Regions from separate parts of the Homo sapiens genome. Here region 2 is linked to region 1. The links are contacts of gene promoters, found by promoter capture Hi-C in blood cells and fetal thymus (Javierre and others, 2016). All regions are on one chromosome and are shown on one strand. Each heading gives the region's core, a stretch centred on a gene start or on the middle of the fragment in contact. The rest is flanking DNA. Distances are from core to core; before and after follow the strand shown.

Evidence for each region. Contacts are between HindIII fragments. The CHiCAGO score rates a contact against its expected background, and 5 or more counts as called.
Region 2: a contact is called between a fragment that was not itself captured here and the fragment with the promoter of EGFLAM-AS5 in region 1, in 1 of 17 cell types (endothelial precursors). The highest score is 5.0, in endothelial precursors.

Annotation. Positions count from the first base shown.
Region 1 is chr5:38,466,912-38,470,178 of GRCh38, reverse strand. EGFLAM-AS5 (EGFLAM antisense RNA 5) reads left to right here and starts at 1,813. Exons shown (of 2, transcript NR_199676.1): 1 at 1,813-1,940. RefSeq lists enhancers at 475-1,346, 2,714-3,267. The HindIII fragment of the contact is 4,194 bases long and covers 1-2,529 here.
Region 2 is chr5:38,661,705-38,665,041 of GRCh38, reverse strand. All of the region lies in intron 8 of LIFR-AS1 (LIFR antisense RNA 1), which reads right to left. Among named protein-coding and RNA genes, the nearest start is that of LINC01265, 57 kb to the left of the region's middle. The HindIII fragment of the contact is 2,551 bases long and covers 428-2,978 here.

The DNA.
Region 1 (3,267 bases), core at 564-3,063:
ACCTTGACAGGGGGAGCTGAGTCCTCTCTATCCTTTATATCCTCACTGGCACTTTGGCCAGGGGCTGGTTTGTGAATAGCTCGTCCTCAGTGAGTGTCAATGAAATGTCAACCGACCTTGTGTGGGCGAGTGCCTGGAGGGGGCAACTACAGTAATCCTTGCGAGGGCCCGCAGGCCATCCGCTCCTCACCCTCCATTCCCCACCCCCAAAGCCTCCCAACCCACTCCCAAGGGCTCCCAGCTTCCAGGCCAGAGGCAGTCACATGGATAAGGCCCCCAGCCTTGGGCACATCCTCTTACCTCTCTAGCCCCGTGTGGAGCTGGAACAGAGATCGCCCAGGCTTCTTTCATTTCTGAGGTGGTGTGAATGTGACCTGGACAAGCAATCGGCTTGTGTTCCACTTTCCACTGTATTAGACAGGGCCCCCCATTTCATTCTGAACCCCCACAGTTGCTCTCTGAACCCCACGTTCAGTGAGAACATGGAATGCTACCGGCAGGGCCGGAAGTCACCACGCACTGAGCCTTGCGACCCCTGCGGCCCCATACCCCTCTCCTCCCACAGCTCTCTCTGCCTCATAGTCCATTTTCTCTGCCTCCGCTTTCTTTTGGCCAATTTCCTAACAGGGCTTTCCTTAGCTAAGCCCCTGGCCTGGTGCCTCTTACTTTTGTTATTAAGTGAGTATAAACGGCAAATTTCTTGAGCCTCCCTGGCCTTCCTTCGAAGAGACATTCCAACTCAAGTCCTCTCCTAGCCAAGTCAGAACTGCAGCCCCTTGGCAGCAGGCTGTTCGGGGAGGTCATAGCCCCGGGCTGGGCCCTGGCTTGTAGGTGAGCAGCTGGGACATCGGGGGAGGCCATGCCACATGCTGGGAAATTTCTATGCCTCTGGACACCATTTGCATCTTGAGCAAAACTGAAAGACAAGATGGATAAATAGAAAAGAAGAGACATCCTCCCAGGGGCTGAGACATAATGTTCTCTCTCCCGTCTTTCCAGGAAATGGCAAGTGCTCCTGGGAGCTACGAACTTTCTAGGACAAAGATGCCTCAGCAAGAGCAAGCGGGAAGAAGAGGAGCGGCAGGGGAGGCCTTTCCCAGCTGCCTTCCCTGTTCTTTCAGCTCGTGGCTTGGCTGGGGCGAGGCAGGGGCCCAGGGGAACACGCTGCTGGGCAGAAATAGCTTGCAACCACTCCCCAGGGTTATGGAGGTTATTTGTGGAGATGAAAGCAAAGGAGGGAAGGGAAAAGAATTTAACCTACACCCAGTTGCCCGTAGAGGGGCCTGAATCCCACCCTGCTGGACTAGCTCTTTAGTTTCTGCTTTCAGATTTGCTCAACCCAGAGTCCCTGCAACAGAAGGCCTTTGAAAGAAGGCAGATTCAGGGCTGTGATGAGAAACTGGCATGCGTTGGCAAGCAGACTCTTGGGACATGGCCTTTGTCCGAATCTCCCTCACTTACACGACTATACTGCAGACGACAGCTAACCCAAGGGAGCCTCAGAATGTCCCTCAACAATGCGGGTGTCCCTGGGCAGACTGCACCTGACCAGAGGTCAGGGTGAGGGCAGAAAAGCTCCACGGGACAGCATCGTGGCTGCGTCCTCGTGATGGGACCATGGGCAAGTCACCCAGTCTTTGTGGCCAGTGTCTGTCTTCCTAAGTCAAATAGGCCATGCCCATCTGCTCCAGCCATCATAGGAGGAGGACTGTTATGAAGATCAAATATGTGAACATTCTTTGACTGTGAGGTTGCGGTGCGGTTACTCACAGGGCCTAGCCCAGAAGCCAGCTGATGCTGTTGCATTGGATTAGTCATTTTGCTGGCCCGAACATAGCCACCTGTAAGCTGGAACTTCCTTACGGCAGCCTGTCACTTCCACGGGACCCACCAGCTTAAATGCCGGCAGCCCTGGGACTTCTGGCCTCACAATGGTTGAGGTAGGGCTGCTTACATTTCCCTTCTCTGTTTAGCGTGTGCCGGATAAGTCCCTAGTTCGGATACCGTCGGACGACCCACATCTCCATGTTGACAAATAACGTGGGAGTGGGCTAAAGCTGTACGACCCCTGATTTCAGATTCTAATTTTGATTCCATGCTGGCAGCTCTCTCCCCACTGCAGGGAGAAAGTGCTGGAGAACGTCGTTCCCGCCTTTGATAAGCTAATCTTACCCCCTTCTCAGCTAAGGGTCTGGGCGGTGGTGGGCACGCCCGGACTGACCCCCAGCTCCAAGGGCAACTACTATGCGTTCCTGGACTGGGCAGGAGCTGGAAGAGGCAGGGAGGAGGTGGGAAGCGGCTCATGCCTTGTCCAGGCTCCTCTCCTAAAGTATTGTCTTTCCGCTTGGAGCTGGAATTCTCTGCCTTTATTTTCTCGGAGCTGGGCCTCTGCAGGCTGCCCCTCGGTCATTCCCTCCCAGGAAGAACGGCCTTCTGGGGTGGGGGTTGCTGTCGGAGCTCAGAGAGGCTGGGGGCCCCCCTACTGCCTATTCTTCCTCCTTTGGGAACTCACAGTGCTAAAAACAAGCTTTCTGAGAACCATATTTTTCTGGGTTAAAGGTGAAAAATGCAGCGTTTCCTCCAAGTGGAAAGCCCTGGGCCTGCCAGCTCCAACTCCGGGCGCTTTTCCGAGCTCCTTCCTCCCACGCAGGGAGGGGGTAGCAGCTCCTGCAGGGCCAGGGGAGGAGGTGGGCAGGGAGGAAGGAGAGGGGGCAGCAGCAGGAAAGCGCCAGTGCCCGTGCCAGCAGGGCAGTCTGTGTGTGGACACCAGCCGGCCTGTTTGTGTTGGAGGGCCGGGAGAAGGGAGCAGGACTGGGTCAGGAAATGAAAGACAAATACCAGGGTGGGAGAGTGGCACGGCCTTCAGAGCGGCGGGCAGGCCGGGGCAGCTGCCTGGGCAGCCGCAGAAGGGGGACACAGAAGACCCCCACAGACCTTCCTGAGAGAAATCCTGAGGTGGGGCCTCCAGGAACATGCAGGGTTATGGGAGGCCATCTTAATAGGAAAAGCAAGGACATCCTCACCCCACACCCGGTCACCCTTGCTTCGAACATGTGGGAGGTTCCGGGGAATTTCCTCAGACCCTGATTGTGGGAGAAAAGCTTTTCAGGATCCCGTGCCCCACTCCATCCTTCCTCCCTAGGACAGGGACTGCTGTTAGCCTCTGAGCTCCCTGGCGACACCCCAAACCTTTCTCTTCAGCCAAGAGCCTGGCCAGCCTTCAACATGCTCTCCCCACAGCGGCTACCCAAAAGCCAGGCACAGATC
Region 2 (3,337 bases), core at 454-2,953, 190 kb before region 1:
ATAGCATGTGTGTGTCTAGGGGACCTGGGAAGGGTTCCATCTCTGTGTTCCACAGACAGCCCTCTCACTTCCACAGCAGCTGCCTGAGATCCCCATAGGACATTCTGAGGCAATTAGTGACCATCTCCTGGAGTAGTCATCGGAATCCACTTCACAAACCATCAACTACAGCGAGCAAAACTGACTCTAGCTGATGCCATCTGAGATTCAGCTCATTGTTTGCACTAAGCTCACACTTTCTCTAAGCTATTCACACCAATGACTCTACTTGGCAGGGATGACAAGGTAGGCTTGCCTGTTCCTGGCTGACATAGGCCTCTTCTGACAGCTGACTTTTACTCAAGGACTGCCTGATGGTCTGAGTGAGTCTTTATAGGCTTCAAGGCCATCTCAGGAGCTTCCAACAATCTTCTTTCCCTGCTAAGCTTGCATTGCAGTCGATGGCTCTCCCAGCCTATTCAGTCCTTGCATGTTTAATCTCATTTTAGGATCTGCTTCTTAGAGGTCCCAAATTAACACAACTTCTTACCCATCTCCTTTAGAGAGCAGCACCTCCAATAACAGCAAGACCTTCCAGCCATGCTTTTCTGGGACTTACAGATCTTGAGACAAGAAAGGATGAAAAAAACAACATTCAAACCACCCATATTGGCTGGGTGCAGTGGCTGACACCTATAATCCCAGCACTTTGGGAGGCTGAGGTGGGCAAATCTCCTGAGGTCAGGAGTTCGAGACCAGCCTGGCCAACATGGTGAAACCTCATTTCTACTAAAAATACAAAAATTAGCTGGGCATGATGGCGGGCGCCTGTAATCCCACCTACTTGGGAGGCTGAGGCTGGAGAATCGCTTGAACCCAGGAGGCAGAGGTTGCAGCGAGTGGAGATGGTGCCATTGCACTCCAGCCTGGGTGACAAGAGTGAAACTCCATCTCAAAACAAACAACAAACCACCCATATCTAGTGAACGTACATATAAGTGGACCATACACAATACATTTTTTTTTTTTTTTGAGATGGAGTCTTGCTCTGTAGCCAGGCTGTAGTGCAGTGGCATGATCTTGGCTCACTGCAACCTCTGCCTCTCCAGTTCAAGCGATTCTCCTGCCTCAGCCTCCCAAGTAGCTGGGATTTCAGGCGCGCCACCATTCCCAGCTAATTTTTGTATTTTTAGTAGAGACGGGGTTTCACCATGTTGGCCAGGATGGTCTCGATCTCTTGACCTCATGATCCGCCTGCCTCGGCCTCCCAAAGTGCTGGGATTACAGGCGTGAGCCACCACAACATGTTTCCAAAAATGCCCTTCAAAAGTAAGGAAACAACTCAACAACATGCTGGGGTTTGTCAGTCCTTTGTCCTGCTAAATTTCTTTTGGACTTTGAAGGGCATCTTAAATAGTGACAAGTCCTTTGGTTACCTCAGCAAGGCCCAGGTGTTGCACATGTAAGGCCAGGGCCACCTCAGCATTTAATTCCAGGCTGCAAATACTCTTGGCTTTGTGGTCTTCTCCTCCTTCACAGGGTCAGAAGCCAAAAAGCAATGTTTCATATTACAAACAGAAGGAAGGAAACTAGCTGAGGGAATGAACAAAGCATCTATTTTGAAGTGGGGTTGCCAAGGCTGTGCCATGGAAGAGGAAGATGAAGTTCATGGCTTCACGAACATTCTTGGATCAAATAGTCCATCAGAAGAATGATCTCATTTGCATATGTATACCATTTATTATCATTTGATATTCATATATGCACATATAAATGAAGTCATTTTAATCTAGGAAATGATTTATCTGTCATTCTAATCAGAGGGTGTTTATTATTATTGAAAATAGCTACAGCATTTATTAAATACTTACTTGCTATTGCCAAACATTATGTTAAGCACTTCACATACACTTTCATTTAATTTTCAACTTATAAAAGAGGAAATTACGTGCTGTGGTAGGATTCTGTAAACTAAAGACACAATTTTATCCCCTCAGAATTTTTTTCTAACTTGATTTATTTTTAATCATTGAATCAGTTGCCAGACCAACTAATCATAAGGTTCTAAGAAGGGAGCTGCATGCGCCACTTCCAGAATAACCAAGGCAGGGAGAGTGTAAGCCCTTGTTCTAGGTCACACCATGAGCAAGGGCAGAAACAAGATTCAAACTTAAGATTGTTCAGCTCCAAAGATTTCTTTCTGTTCCTTAGAACAACAGTGAGCACTTAACAGTAGAGTTAAATGCTTTAATAACAAAGTCCATGATTAAAGAAATTATTGTGCAAATGAATACAGAAATGGAACTTTGGATTTGAATCTCAGCTCTGGCTCAGATGTTAAATAACCTTGACAAACTGAACTTTCTCTTGGGAAAAATGAGCCTATCTTCAGGAAGGTACGAAAGGGCTAATGATCCTGAAAAAGCCCTGCCTCTCCCAGAAGCAATAAGAGGAATAACAAAGAATAATGAAACACTATATCAATATAGTGTGCAATGGAATTGCTTAAATCATACACAACATTTTAGCTTCTTATAACATTAGGAATCATATTATCACGGTTGAGTTATGTTTTCCTCACTTCCTTGTGGCCGCAGAAATTCCAAGTTGCAAAATGAACTTTAAAAAAAAAAATCCTTTACTTCTTTGAAAATTATTCACTCCTTTCCGCCTGTTTGCTCCCTGAGAAATATTTTTGAACAGTGTTTGCTACCCCCTATTTATAGCTTTCCAGTTTTGGCAGGTATGGGAAAGTTTATAAGTGGTTTGTTTTCTTTGCTATAGCCAGTGTTGATTTAGGTCCCTTTAGCCACTGAAACAATTGGAAGCACTTTCAAGGAAGGCAAAGTCTGTTGACGACTGATAACATTGTAAAATCCAGATAGTCCGAATCAGGATTTCTTTGGGGGGCTCAGATCAGTTAGAAAATCTTAGCAGTGCCATGATTTGAATAATTATCTTTACTTCTTTTTTTGTGTATGGCTGTTGTGGAGGAAGCTTGCCCTTGACATCAGTAGGAAAAGCATCTCCTGAACATTGTCAGAGTCATTGGTGACTCTGAGTTTGATGCTGACTTGGACAACTAGGTAAGAAAACGTGCCTGCAGTGCTCTGTATCTGAGCTGTAAAGATCTACCTTATGAACCTATGTCTAACATCTAGTTTTTCACCAATTTTTCATGCTGACCAGAAGCAAACATTCGTGGTTCTTTTGTTTAGGAGAGATACCTGGAATTTCTAGGGTTTGTTTCATAAATATCTGAACTAAATAAATACCTTTGAAAGCCACGAGAATTATAGGCATCTTTTCCTTCCATCTGGTATGTTTGTATGGGTGGTATGGTTGTTTTTTTTTTTTT